Regions from separate parts of the Homo sapiens genome. Here region 1 is linked to region 2. Evidence: promoter capture Hi-C in human tissues and cell types (Jung and others, 2019). All regions are on one chromosome and are shown on one strand. Each heading gives the region's core, a stretch centred on a gene start or on the middle of the fragment in contact. The rest is flanking DNA. Distances are from core to core; before and after follow the strand shown. Region 1 has its middle 13 kb from the start of TLCD3B. Region 2 holds the start of ZG16 (zymogen granule protein 16).

The links. Contacts are between HindIII fragments. The study calls those that stand out against the background at their distance.
Region 1: a fragment that was not itself captured here is called in contact with the fragment with the promoter of ZG16 in region 2 in 1 of the 25 tissues and cell types used here (spleen).

Annotation. Positions count from the first base shown.
Region 1 is chr16:30,040,986-30,047,391 of GRCh38, forward strand. It overlaps a transcript of TLCD3B not described here. Among named protein-coding and RNA genes, the nearest start is that of TLCD3B, 13 kb to the left of the region's middle. The HindIII fragment of the contact is 9,203 bases long and covers 486-6,406 here.
Region 2 is chr16:29,774,674-29,781,070 of GRCh38, forward strand. It overlaps ZG16 (zymogen granule protein 16), which reads left to right and starts at 3,583. Exons shown (of 4, transcript NM_152338.4): 1 at 3,583-3,633; 2 at 4,587-4,648; 3 at 4,832-4,964; 4 at 5,431-6,397. The coding sequence starts at 4,594. The coding sequence ends at 5,746. RefSeq lists an enhancer at 1,095-1,389. The HindIII fragment of the contact is 7,779 bases long and covers 1-4,770 here.

The sequences.
Region 1 (6,406 bases), core at 3,837-6,336, 270 kb after region 2:
TGTGCTTACCCTAGACAAGAAAATGTGGAAGGGAGGAAAGTTTACAGGCCATGAGCTGGTTAGAGTCAGGCCCGAGTCTCACTGGAATCTGGACTCTCTCCTACATTTCTTCCTTTCCTTGTCGATTTCTTCTTGTTGAGAGCAAAACAGTCCAAGGCTGCACAGGCTTGTCTGAGAGAGAAAATATGAGAGGAGAAAATTGTGGTTTTGAGCAATGGCTTTAAATTTTTTTAATAGTGACCCACAAGAGATATCTTTTATTTTATTTCTTTATGTATTTATTTTTTGTTTGTTTGTTTTGTTTTTTTGAGACAGAGTCCCACTCTGTTGTCCAGGCTGGAGTGCAGTGGCACAATCTCAGCTCACTACAACCTCCACCTCCTGCGTAAATGATTCTCCTACCTCAGCCTCCCAAGTAGCTGGGATTACAGGTGCATGCTACCACGCCTGGCTAATTTTTGTATTCTTAGTAGAGACACCATATTGGCCAGGCTGGTCTGAACTCCTGACCTCAAGTGAGCTGCCCGCCTTGGCCTACCAAAGTGTTGGGATTACACACGCCTGTAATTTTTGTAAAATACAAAAAATTAGCTGGGCATGGTGGTGGGTGCCTGTAGTCCCAGCTACTTGGGAGGCTGAGGCAGGAGAATGGCATGAACCTGGGAGACAGAGCTTGCAGTGAGCCGAGATCACGCCACTGCACTCCAGCTTGGGCCACAGAGTGGGACTCTGTCTCAAAAAAAAAAAAAAAAAAGTGTTGGGATTACAGAGGTGAGCCATGGCGCCCAGCCGAGATATCTTTTATTTTGTGACTGCAGTTCATGCACCCACACGTTGAATGGAAAACCTTTGCACAACACATTCTGACTTACTATATGCAGTGCCCTGTGGAATTTTCTAGACCATTTTTCCACCAAATATTGATCATGACCCATTAAGCCAATTTCACTGCCCACTAGTGGCTAAACAAGCCAAGCGGGAAAAATCTTGGTTTGGAGAGCAGTGTTTCTCAATTTTTCTTTCATTATTGTTCCCCTAAGGAGCCCTTTTTACACTTTTTTTTCTAATCGCTGCCTATCACGAAAGTTTAATAACACAGATATATTTATGTCTATTTACATATATCTTTTCCATATTAAAAAGAGTAAGTTTTTTGCCCCCTTGGGGGCGATATTATACCAGTTGAGAAGGCATCATTGTCCTAATGCTCATTTTCTGAGCCGCCTTTATTTATTTATTTACTTATTTATTTTATTTTATTTTATTTTTTTCAGATGGAGTTTTACTCTTTTGCACAGGCTGGAGTGCAGTGGCACGATCTTGTCTCACTGCAATCTGCCCCCGCTGGGTTCAAGCGATTCTCCTGCCTCAGTCTCCCAAGGCGCCCACCACCACACCCAGCTAATTTTTGTATTTTTAGTAGAGACGGGGTTTCACCATGTTGGCCAGGCTGGTCTCAAACTCCTGACCTCAAGTGATCCACCCGCTTTGGCCTCCCAAAGTGTTGGGATTACAGGCATGAGCCACCGTGCCCTGCCTCTGATCCGCCTTTATACACATCAATCCCAACATCCAATGAGATAGGATTAGTTCCATTTTGCAAGTGATTAAGTGGAAGCTGAGAGGTTATATTAATTATTGAAGATTGAAATGGCTGGCAATTAGACTGGGAATCCAGAAACTTACCAATATCCTAACTCAGCCTCTAGCTTCTCCAAACCTTTGTTTCCCCACAAAAAAAAACCTCAGTTATGGTCAGTTATGGGTGTTTTTTGTTGTTGTTATTGTTGTTGTTGTTTTTCTCTATTTGACCTAATAAGAGCAAACATTAGGCCAGGCACAGTGGCTCACACCTGTAATCGCAATGCTTTGGGAGGCCGAGGTGGGTGGATCATGAGGTCAGGAGTTTGAGACCAGCCTGACCAACATGGTGAAAGCCCATTTCTACTAAAAATACAAAAAAAATTAGCCAGGCGTGGTGGCACACGCCTGTAATCCCAGCTACTCAGGAAGCTGAGGCAGGAGAATTGCTTGAAACTGAAAGGCAGAGGCTGCAGTGAGCCGAGATCAGACCACTGCACTCCAGCCTGGTGACAGAGTAAAACTCCGTCTCCAAAAGAAAAAAAAAGCAAACATTTATAGAGCATTTACTAGACATCCGGCAGCAATCTAAGCCCTTTATATATATTAACTAACATAATATCCACAATAATCTTAAGACAGACATACTGGGGTTTTTGTTTTGTTTTGATTTTTGAGACGGGGTCTCTCATTTTGTCTCCCTTGATGAAGTACACTGGTACGATTAGCTCACTGTAACCTCAAATTCCTGTGCTCAGGGGATCCTCCTGCCTCAGCCTCCCAAGTGGCTGGGACTACAGGCTCTCAGGCTCATCACTACCAGCTTATTTTTTAAGTTTTTCCTACAGATGGGGGTCTCGATTTGTTGCCCAGGTTGGTCTCAAACTCCTGGCCTCAAGCATTCTCCTACCTTGGCCTCCCGAAGTGCTGGGATTATAGGCACAAATCACGTGTCAGGTGAGACATACTCTCAGTCACTGTTCGGATGAGGAAATTGAGGCACAGAGAGGTTGTGTGGCTTGCTCAAGGTCATGCAGGTAGAAAGTGGCACAAGCGGGGATTTGAACCAAGTAATCTGATTTTCAGAGCACAGGTTGTGCGTTTTGTTTTGTTTTTCACCATGTATTATTTTTTGAGATGGGGTTCTCACTCTGTTGCCCAGGCTGGAATGCAGTGGTGCCATCTCAGCTTCCTGCAACCTCCATTTGCCAGGCTCAAGTGATCCTCCTGCCTCAGCCTCCTGAGTAGCTGGGACCATAGGCAAGCCACCACCATGCACGGCTAATTTTTTGTATTTTTGGTAGAGACAGGGTTTCGCCATGTTGCTCATGCTGGTCTCAAACTCCTGAGCTCCAGCAATACGCCCGATCCTCCTGCCTCGGCCTCACAAAGTGCTGGGATTATAGGTGTGAACCACCATGGTTAGCATGAGCTAACCATGTCCTTTTTTTTTTTTTTTTAACTCTGTCTCCCAAGCTAAAGTGCAGTGGTGCGATCTCAGCTCACTGCAACCTCCGCCTCCCAGGTTCAAGCGATTCTCCTGCCTCAGCCTCTGGAGTAGCTGGGATTACAAGTGTGTGCCATCACACTTGGCTAATTTTTGTATTTTTAGTAGAGATGGGGTTTCACCATGTTGCCCAGGCTGGTCTCAAACTCCCGACTTCAAGTGATCTGCCTGCCTCACACCTCCCAGAGTGCTGGGATTACAGGCATGAGCCACAGTGCTAAACTAACCATGTACTTTATTTTCTTTCATTTGAGATGAAGTTTCGCTCTTGTTGCCCAGGCTGGAGGGCAATGGTGCGATCTCGGCTCACTGCAACCTCCGCCTCCTGGGTTTAAGCTATTCTCCTGCCTCAGCCTCCCGAGTAGCTGGGATTACAGGTGCCTGCCACCACACTCGGCTAATTGTTTGTATTTTTTTTAGTAGAGACAGGGTTTCAACCTGTTGCCCAGGCTGGTCTCAAACTCCTGACCTCAGGCGATCTGCCTGCCTTGGCCTCCCAATGTGCTGGGATTACAGAAGTAAGCCACTGTGGCTACCATGTACTTTAAAAGGAAACTTTTTATCACTCTGGAAAATAGAAAACCAGTACCACCTGTGATAAACAGAAGGTAACAAAAAATATACAAAATGAAAACACATTTTATAACATTCTAGCTAGATACTATGGGCAGCTGCTCATTCTGAACTGGAGGCTGGCTCTCTCCTTGTTCAAAAAAGAAAGATCAGGCCGGGCGCAGTGGCTCAAGCCTGTAATCCCAGCACTTTGGAGGCCGGCGGGCGGCGGGGGGGTGCGGATTAACTAAGGTCAAGGGTTCGAGACCAGCCCCTGGCCAATATGGTGTAACCCCATCTCTACTAAAAATATAAAAATTAGCCGGGCGTGGTGGCATGCACCTGTAATCCCAGCTAGTCAGGAGGTTGAGGCAGAAGAATTGCTTGAACCCAGGAGGTGGAGATTTCAGTGAGCCAAGATCGTGTCACTGTACTCCAGCCTGGGCGACAAAGCAAGACTCCATCTCAAAAAAAAAAAAAAAAAAAAAAAAAAAGAACAAAAAGATAAGCACAGAGAGAAAGGTGTTAAAGGGTTTCTGGCAGCAAATTGAGAGTTTCTCCTGCAGTAATCAGAAGCGTTGAAAGGGAATTGGAAAGAGAAAGAGAGTAGCTTGTTCAGGGTGTGTGTGTGGTGTGTGTGTGATGTGTGTGGTGTGTGTGTGGTGGGGTGTGTGTGGGGTGGGTGTATGGGGTGTGTGTGTGGTGTTTGTGTGTGTTTGTGTGTGTGGTGTGTGTGTGTGTGGTTTGTGTGTGTGGTGTGCGTGGGTATGGTGTGTGTGGTGTGTGGTGTGTTTGTGTAGTGTGTGTGGTGTGTGTGTGGTGCATGTGTGGTGTGTGTGTATTTGTGTGTGTGGTATGTGTGTTTGTGTGGTGTGTATGGTGTGTGTGTGTGGTGTGTGTGGTATGTGTGGTGTGTGTGTGTGGTGTATGTGGTGTGTGTGTGGTGTATGTGGTATGTGTGTGGTGAGTGGTGTGTGTGTTTGTGTGGTGTGTGTGTGTATTTGTGTGTGGTATGTGTGTTTATGTGGTGTGTGTATGGTGTGTGTGTTGATGTGTTTGGTGTGTGTTTGTGTGTGTGTGTGTTGTGTGTGTTTGTGTGTGTGGTGTGTGTTTGTGTGTGTGTGTGTCTTCTTGCTGACATACCACCTAAAATAAACCCAAGATGGGATGCACCACATACTCTGAACCCTTGTCGGGTGGTCAATGGGTGTTCAGGACATCCCAGCAGAGGAAGGGAGACACACCAGCCTGTCCTGGCCTGGGTGTGCAGCCAGAAAGCATGGGGCCAGGCTGGGCAACACAGTGAGACCTCCTCTCTACAAAAAGTCAAAAAAATTAGCTGGGCGTGGTGCTGTGTGCCTGTAGTCCCAGCTACTTAGGAGGCTGAGGTGAGAGGATCGCTTGAGCTAGGGAGGTGGAGGCCACAGTGAGCCATGATCGCGCCACTGCACTCCAACCTGGGTGACAGAGGGAGACCCTGTCTCAAAAACAAAACAAAAACAAACAAAACATAGAGCATTAGGCAGTCCACCACGTGTGGAGGGGCAGTGCAGGGCAGGGGTATAGGAGGGCCCATCCAAGCCTCTGTGACTTTGGCCACCATCTTTCCTTCCCCTAGCCTGTCTCCCCAGGTGAGTTTCACCCCCAGGCAGTCCTTAGAGACCCGCCACCCAATTTACCCTTGGCCTTGAGTTTACCGTTCTCTGTTCTTCCAGGTTCTGCCGCCCACAGGCTGTTTCACTCATCCTCTCCACCGGGTGCCCTGCGGAGGTGTGCAAGTGTGATATCATCAAAGGCTGTGAATAAGTAAACAATAAGTGGCCAGAAGTGGCCTGTTTCCCACATGATACCCAGGGAAGGGTCCGATTCCCCCCGCCTGGGCTCTGGGGCAAGTCCTGGCTGGCGTGCCAGAGCATTTATTATTTAGTATTTTTACTTACCTGTCCCAGGTTAGGGACTGTCCCAAGCAATGCCAGTCCCACCCTCTATCTGCACACCAGAAAAAGCTGAGGGCACAGCAGGTGATTGGAGTCAGACAGCTAAGGGTCCAATCCCTTTCTTCTCACATAGACTGGCTGTGTGACCTTGGCCAAATTTCACAACCTCTCTGAGCCTCCACTGAGCACACACCAAGTCCCATTGCCAGGCCTAAGTCCTGCTTCTGCCAGTCACTAGCCTGGCATCCTTGTGCAAGGGATTCAACTCCTCTGAGCCTTGGGCTCCTCATCAATGAAACAGCAGCACCTCTACCTGGGGCTGCTGGGGTGATTAAATGAGATCTGTGTAAAGCACAGTTGCTATACACATACGCATTGTGATATTCATTAATAGTCATTCAAAATGTATATATTTAGAGATGAGATCTCGATCTGTCGTCCAGGCTGGAGTGCAGTGGCATGATCATGGCTCCCTGTAGCCTTGAACTCCTGGGCTCAACTGATCCTCCCTCTTCAGCCTCCTAAGTAGCTAGAATTACAGGCATGAGCCACCATGCCCTGCCTGTTGTGTCATCTGTCTGTCTGTCTGTCTGTCTGTCTGTCTGTCTATCTATCTATCTATCTATCTATCTAGCGCAATCTCGGCTCATTGCAACCTCTGCCCCCAGCGGTCAAGCAATCTTCCCACCTCAGCCTCCTGAGTAGCTGGGGCTACAAGCATGTGCCACCGTGCCTGGCTAATTTTTGCTTTTTGGTTTTGGGTTTTTTTCTTTTTTTGAGATGGAGTCTTCCTCTGTCACCCAGGCTGGAGTCCAGTGGTGCAATCTCA
Region 2 (6,397 bases), core at 2,333-4,832:
CTTGCACTCTGGAGACTGAGGACTTGCTATAGTGGAACAAGAAGCAGTCTTCGGCAATGGAGGAGATGCTGGATCTCCATACAGGCAGGGTGGGTGCAACGGAGTGGAGCTGTGGCAAATGTGGGTGCCTCTGTCCTGAGGGTCCTGGATGTGTCATGCCTGGGAACATGAGGGCGTTCTTCCAAGGTGCCCATCTCGACCTCTCTGAGCTGCCATCTTTGACTTCCTGTGTTTGGTCACAGACTAGGGGTGGTCTGTCCCTAAACAGAAGAAGACAAGCAAGGATTAGAGAGGAGAAAGAGCTAGAGAGAGAGCTTGGGAGAGATGTAGGGACAAGGAAAGAAGAGGCAGAAGGAAAAAGGCATGGAGGGAAGGAATATAAAAAAAAACCCCTTAGGCCAGGCATGGTGGCTCACGCCTGTAATTCCCGCACTTTGGGAGGCCAAGGTGGGTGGATCACCTGAGGTCATTTCAAGACCAGCCTGGCCAACATGGTGAAACCCCATCTTTACTAAAAATACAAAAATTAGCCAGGCATGGTGGTGGGTGCCTGTAATTCTAGCTACTCCGGAGGCTGAAGCAGGAGAATCGCTTGAACCCTGGAGGCAGAGGTTGCAGTAAGCTGAGATCAGGCCACTGCACTCCAGCCTGGGTGACAGAGCGAGAATCTATCTCAAAAAAAAAAAGAAAAAAGAAAAAAAGGCCGGGTGTGGTGGCTCACGCCTATAATCCTAGCACTTTGGGGGGCTGAGGAAGGTGGATCACAAGGTCAGGAGATTGAGACCATCCTGGCCAACATGGTGAAACCCCATCTCTAGTAAAATAGAAAAAATTATCTGGGTGTGGTGGTGCGCACCTGTAGTCCCAGCTACTCAGGAGGCTGAGGCAGGGGAATTGCTTGAACCCTGGAGGCAGAGGTTGAAGTGAGTCGAGATCGCGCCACTGCACTCCAGCCTGGCAACAGAGCAAGACTCCATCTAAAAAAAAAGAAAGAAAGAAAGAAAGAAAAATCCTCCCCAGAGCAGGGAAAGATGAAGACATAAAGGGAAGGAGAGTCACCAGGAAAGAGAGAGGGAGAGAGACACAAAACAAAATGGCTGGAATGAGGTGAAAGTTATAGTAGCAGGATGTGCTGACACTGACCTTGGAGAAAAAGAGAGGGGAAGGGAGGAGTGAACGTGGAATCTTTGGCTGCTGTTCTGTTTCACTCCCAGAACTCACCACCCTGGATTCCCCCCATTTCCAGATCCTCAGGCGGGACTGCCTTTGCTATCTGGGATGAGTCATTGGCCCCAGATGGTAAACCTGTGAGGGGTGGGGTGCTCTGAATGCCTGACTAGTCATTTATAATTGAGAGCACTTATTCCAGCCCCTTCTGGTCCTCCATCCTTCCCTCTTCTTGGACCTCCTGATTCAGAGAGGTCAGAGGGCCAGTCCAGGAGGGGTCAGGCACTAGGTCCCTGGAGTCAGTCTTAGGGATTTTAGGCAGAGAGGAATCAGTCCTGAAAATGAAGGGCATACAGAGAAAAAAAAAACTATGACATCACCCCTGGGGGTGTTACAGACCTAAGAAAGAAGCAATGGCCCTGGGCGGCCTACAGCCCCAGGAAGATTCAGCCATGGTACCCAGGAGACTTGAGGGCCCAAAGCCCAGAATTACCCCCAGAGGAACACCTGTAGACCTTCGGATCCTTAGCTTTGCACTTCCCATTGGACTGACTCTGTTTCCTGTGGGGCAATAGGCACGTGTTCACTGTGCACCTGCAGCCCCAGTCATCCTTCTCAGAGAGAAATGGTTTGGGAAGTGTTTGGCATATTGGGGATAAATAGATGAGTGGATAGAAAAAAAAATGCAGGCCAGGCACAGTGGCTCACGCCTGTAATCCCAGCACTTTGGGAGGCCGAGGTGGGCGGATCACGAGGTCAAGAGATCGAGACCATCCTGGCAAACATGGCGAAACCCTGTCTCTACTAAAATTACAAAAATTAGCTGGGCGTGGTGGCGCATGCCTGTAATCCCAGCTACTCGGGAGGCTGAGGCAGGAGAATCGCTTGAACCTGGGAAGCAGAGATTATAGTGAGCCGAGATCGCGCCACTGCCCTCCAGCCTGAGGGATAGAGCAAGACTGTGTCTCCAAAAAGAAGAAAGAAAAAAAAGCAATTACAGCAAAATATTAACCATAGTAGAATCTATACAGTGGTTATATAAGTGTCCACTATACAATTCTTTTTTTTTTTTTCCTTTTTTTGAGACTTGATGTTTCGATCATGGCTCACTGCAACTTTGACCTCCTCAGCTCAAGTGATCCTCTTGCCTCAGCCTCCTGACTAGCTGGGATCACAGGTGTGCACCACCATGCCTGGCTAATTGTTTTATTTTTTGTAGAGACGAGATCTCCCTATGTTGCCCATGTTGGTCCTGAACTCCTGAGCTTAAGCAGTCCTCCTGCTTTGACCTCTCAAAGTGCCGGGATTACAGGCATGAGCCACTGCACCCAGTCTTGCTATACGATTCTTTTGTTTTTTTTTTTTTTTTTTTTGAGATGGAGTCTCACTCTGTCGCCCAGGCTAGAGTGCAGTGGAGTGATCTCAGCTCACTGCAACCTCTGCCCCTCAGGTTCAAGTGATTCTCCTGCCTCAGTCTCCTGACTAGCTGGGATCACAGGCACCTGCCATCACACCCAGCTACTTTTTGTATTTTTAGTACAGATGGGGTTTCGCCATGTTGGCCAAGCTGGTCTCAAACTCCTGACCTCAGGTGATCCAGCTGCCTCAGCTTCCCAAAGTGTTGGATTATGGGTGTGAGCCACTGGGCCCAGCCACTGTACAATTCTTTAAACTTTTATATGTGTTTGGATTTTTCATAATATTAGAAAAGGGAAAGAAAAAAATGTCTGGCAAATAGTCAGCACTCGTAAGTATAAGATTTTGGGAATATATTCCCTTCTGGGAGAATCCACATTTCGAATGCCTGGGAAGGGCTCTGTTTGTCCTGACAGATGGCAGATTTCAGGTGAGAGCACCTACTAAGCCTAGAGGTGATAAGCTACTTTGCCCACCTAGAGCTGCTGGTGGTGACCTTAAGTTTACTATGTTTCTCCTGGTATACGGCACTTGGCCCAGAGTGGACTCCAGCTTGCCACCTGTCACCCAGGCTGGAGTGCAGTGGCGTGATCTTGTCTCACTGCAGCCTCAACGTCCTGGGCTCAGGCGATCTTCCCTACCTCCCTCCTGATTAGTTGAGGCTACAGGTGCTCGTCACCATGCCCGGCTAATTTTTGTTTTTGTTTTTTGTTTTGGTAGAGATGGGGTCTCACACTCTTGCCCAGGCTGAGCTAGAACTCCTGGCCTCAAGCGATCTGCCTCTGCCTCCCAAAGCATTGTAATGACAGGTGTGAGTCACCATGCCCAGCCAGGAACTCAGAGAATCTTACCCTATGCTGTAGTATCTGTTGACTATGGGGTAGAGGCAGGATAAGGTGTTCCAGACCCTGCCTGACACCTGATCCGAAGAGGTTGCTCATGTTTGCTCAGGAGGTGAGGTTCACACAATAAAGGGCAGGAGGAGGGCTTGGACCTGGTATAAAACATCTGGAAGTTTCCAGGGGGCTGCTTTGCATCTGAAACTGTCAGGTGAGGGGTGACAGAGATGCCTGAATCTGAGTTGGGGGGGAATTCAAATCTGAGCTGGCGAAGAGGATGCCTGGAAGGAATGGCAGGAAAGACTTGAGTTAATTGGCGCTTCTGGGTCTGCAGTAATCTTAGGTGCAAAGCTGTCTAGGTCTCTGCTGAAGGACTGGGGACACCTGGGATGTTCAGGAGAATAGAAATGGCCAGATGTGTGTTAGTGGAGAAAAGAATAGTGACACATAGACCAGGCACCTGGGGTCTAATATCTTGAGCTGGTCCCGACTCCTTCTGCAACTTCTCTGTCTGTCCTAGTTCCACCAGCACTGCTTGGATACTGGTGCTGGCACAGTTCCTTCTGTCACCAACTTTGCTCCCCAGGTAACATAGAGGCAACTCTAAAATGCTTCTTTCCTTGAGACCAGGTGGATGCCAGGGATTTAAACCATGCTCCAGGTGCCCCATAATCCAGGCCAATTCACCACAGATGATGAGGCTTTCTTTGCTCAGCCTCTGGGCTCAGTAAACTCAGCCATCTCTTTGCTTGGGAGAGGTCCTCTACTCCCTCCTTAGAAAACTCGTTTCCTGGCTATGGCCATACCAACCCAAATGTACCTGGGCTTGGCTGACTTCAGAAAACTTTTCTGCTTTGTGCCAGGATGGAATAAGGCTTAATCCAGATAGTTAGAGTTCATCTTCAGGCCTGAGAGAAAAAGAGGAGGGCTTGGCTACAGCCAGACCAGGGAGAGCTGGAGGGGTCAGGGACATTGAAGGTAGCATCAGAGAGGAACAGGACTACAGGCTATGGACAGTCCTTTCTAAGCTCAAGACTGGGTCTGCTAGGTCTAAGTTGAAGGACGAAGAAGGCTTGGTCTGAGCTGCAGGTCAGGAGTGCCTGGGTCAATCAAGTCAACAAGGAAGAAGGTGAATCTTCATTTGCTCTTTTCTTCCCACTCCAGCCCCAGAATGTTGACAGTCGCTCTCCTAGCCCTTCTCTGTGCCTCAGCCTCTGGCAATGCCAGTAAGTGAGATACCAGGAGCCTGGTATTGGGGACTTGGGAAGGCAGCCTTGGGCACTGCTGTTGGCCAAGGCTTTTGGAGGTTGGCTTGGGGTGGGGAGCTGAGTTGTCGGAGGAACAGGGGTGATGCAGAGAAACTGAACTCCTGGAAGATTTCTCCCTCCAACTCCTGCTTGCCCCTCCAGTTCAGGCCAGGTCTTCCTCCTATAGTGGAGAGTATGGAGGTGGTGGTGGAAAGCGATTCTCTCATTCTGGCAACCAGTTGGACGGCCCCATCACCGCCCTCCGGGTCCGAGTCAACACATACTACATCGTAGGGTAAGATTCTTTGAATTCCTGGCTGGGCGCGGTGGCTCACATCTGTCATTACAATGCTTTGGGAGGCAGAGGCAGATCGCTTGAGGCCAGGAGTTCTAGCTCAGCCTGGGCAAGATGCCAGGGATGCCAGGGATTTAAACCATGCTCCAGGTACCAAGACCCCATCTCTACCGAAGAAAAACAAAAAAATTAGCCAGGCATGGTGGTGAGTACCTGTAGCCTCAACTACTCAGGAGGGAGAGGCGGGAGGATTGCCTGAGCCCAGGATGTTGAGGCTGCAGTGAGCCAAGATCATGCCACTGCACTCCAGCCTGGGTGACAGAGTCTCTTTGTTGGCAAAATGAGTTGAAGTTCCCTGTAGGATCTTCCAGGGTTCACCCAGGCTTCACAGTCTGTAGGACTAGCCAGAGACCTCTCATCCCTATCATCACCTTTCTTTCTCCTTCCTTCCTCCCCTCTTCCTCAGTCTTCAGGTGCGCTATGGCAAGGTGTGGAGCGACTATGTGGGTGGTCGCAACGGAGACCTGGAGGAGATCTTTCTGCACCCTGGGGAATCAGTGATCCAGGTTTCTGGGAAGTACAAGTGGTACCTGAAGAAGCTGGTATTTGTGACAGACAAGGGCCGCTATCTGTCTTTTGGGAAAGACAGTGGCACAAGTTTCAATGCCGTCCCCTTGCACCCCAACACCGTGCTCCGCTTCATCAGTGGCCGGTCTGGTTCTCTCATCGATGCCATTGGCCTGCACTGGGATGTTTACCCCAGTAGCTGCAGCAGATGCTGAGCCTCCTCTCCTTGGCAGGGGCACTGTGATGAGGAGTAAGAACTCCCTTATCACTAACCCCCATCCAAATGGCTCAATAAAAAAAATATGGTTAAGGCTAGTCTGTGTGGGGGCATCTGTGGCTGGGATATCTGCCTCCTGACTTAGCCGGGGACGTGCAAATCTCACTTCTGGCTGGCTTTGGACATCTGTCTGGAAGATGGGAAGATGAGGGAGAGGTATGTAAGAATCCTGGGCTTTGTGCTATAATTTATCAAGAGGAGATGAGATTCTGGCTTGCATCAACGCTCTTCAAGGACAGCTCCTTGGAACATTGATCCAAACTGGAGTCATGGGTCTGAGGGCAAGGCCTAGTTGTGGCTTACACCAAAACCCCAGATGTCCCACTCTCCAGCTCTCCTCACCCCTGGTCCTCCCCTTGAGAAAGTGGTGAACTCACTTGCTGTGTGTGGGTGGCCAGGACCATTAGCCTTTGTTCTTTCCCAGAACCCACCTGACTCCTGAAACTTAGCTGAAGTCTGTGCCCGAGGACCCTGCCCTGTTACCAGGCCCAGTTCCTCCTCACCTCTACCCATGAGCCCCGGTGTCCTGCTAAGCCCTCTCAGATCTGGGATTCCTCCTTCCTCAGGAAGCCACCACCTTCTCAGCAGT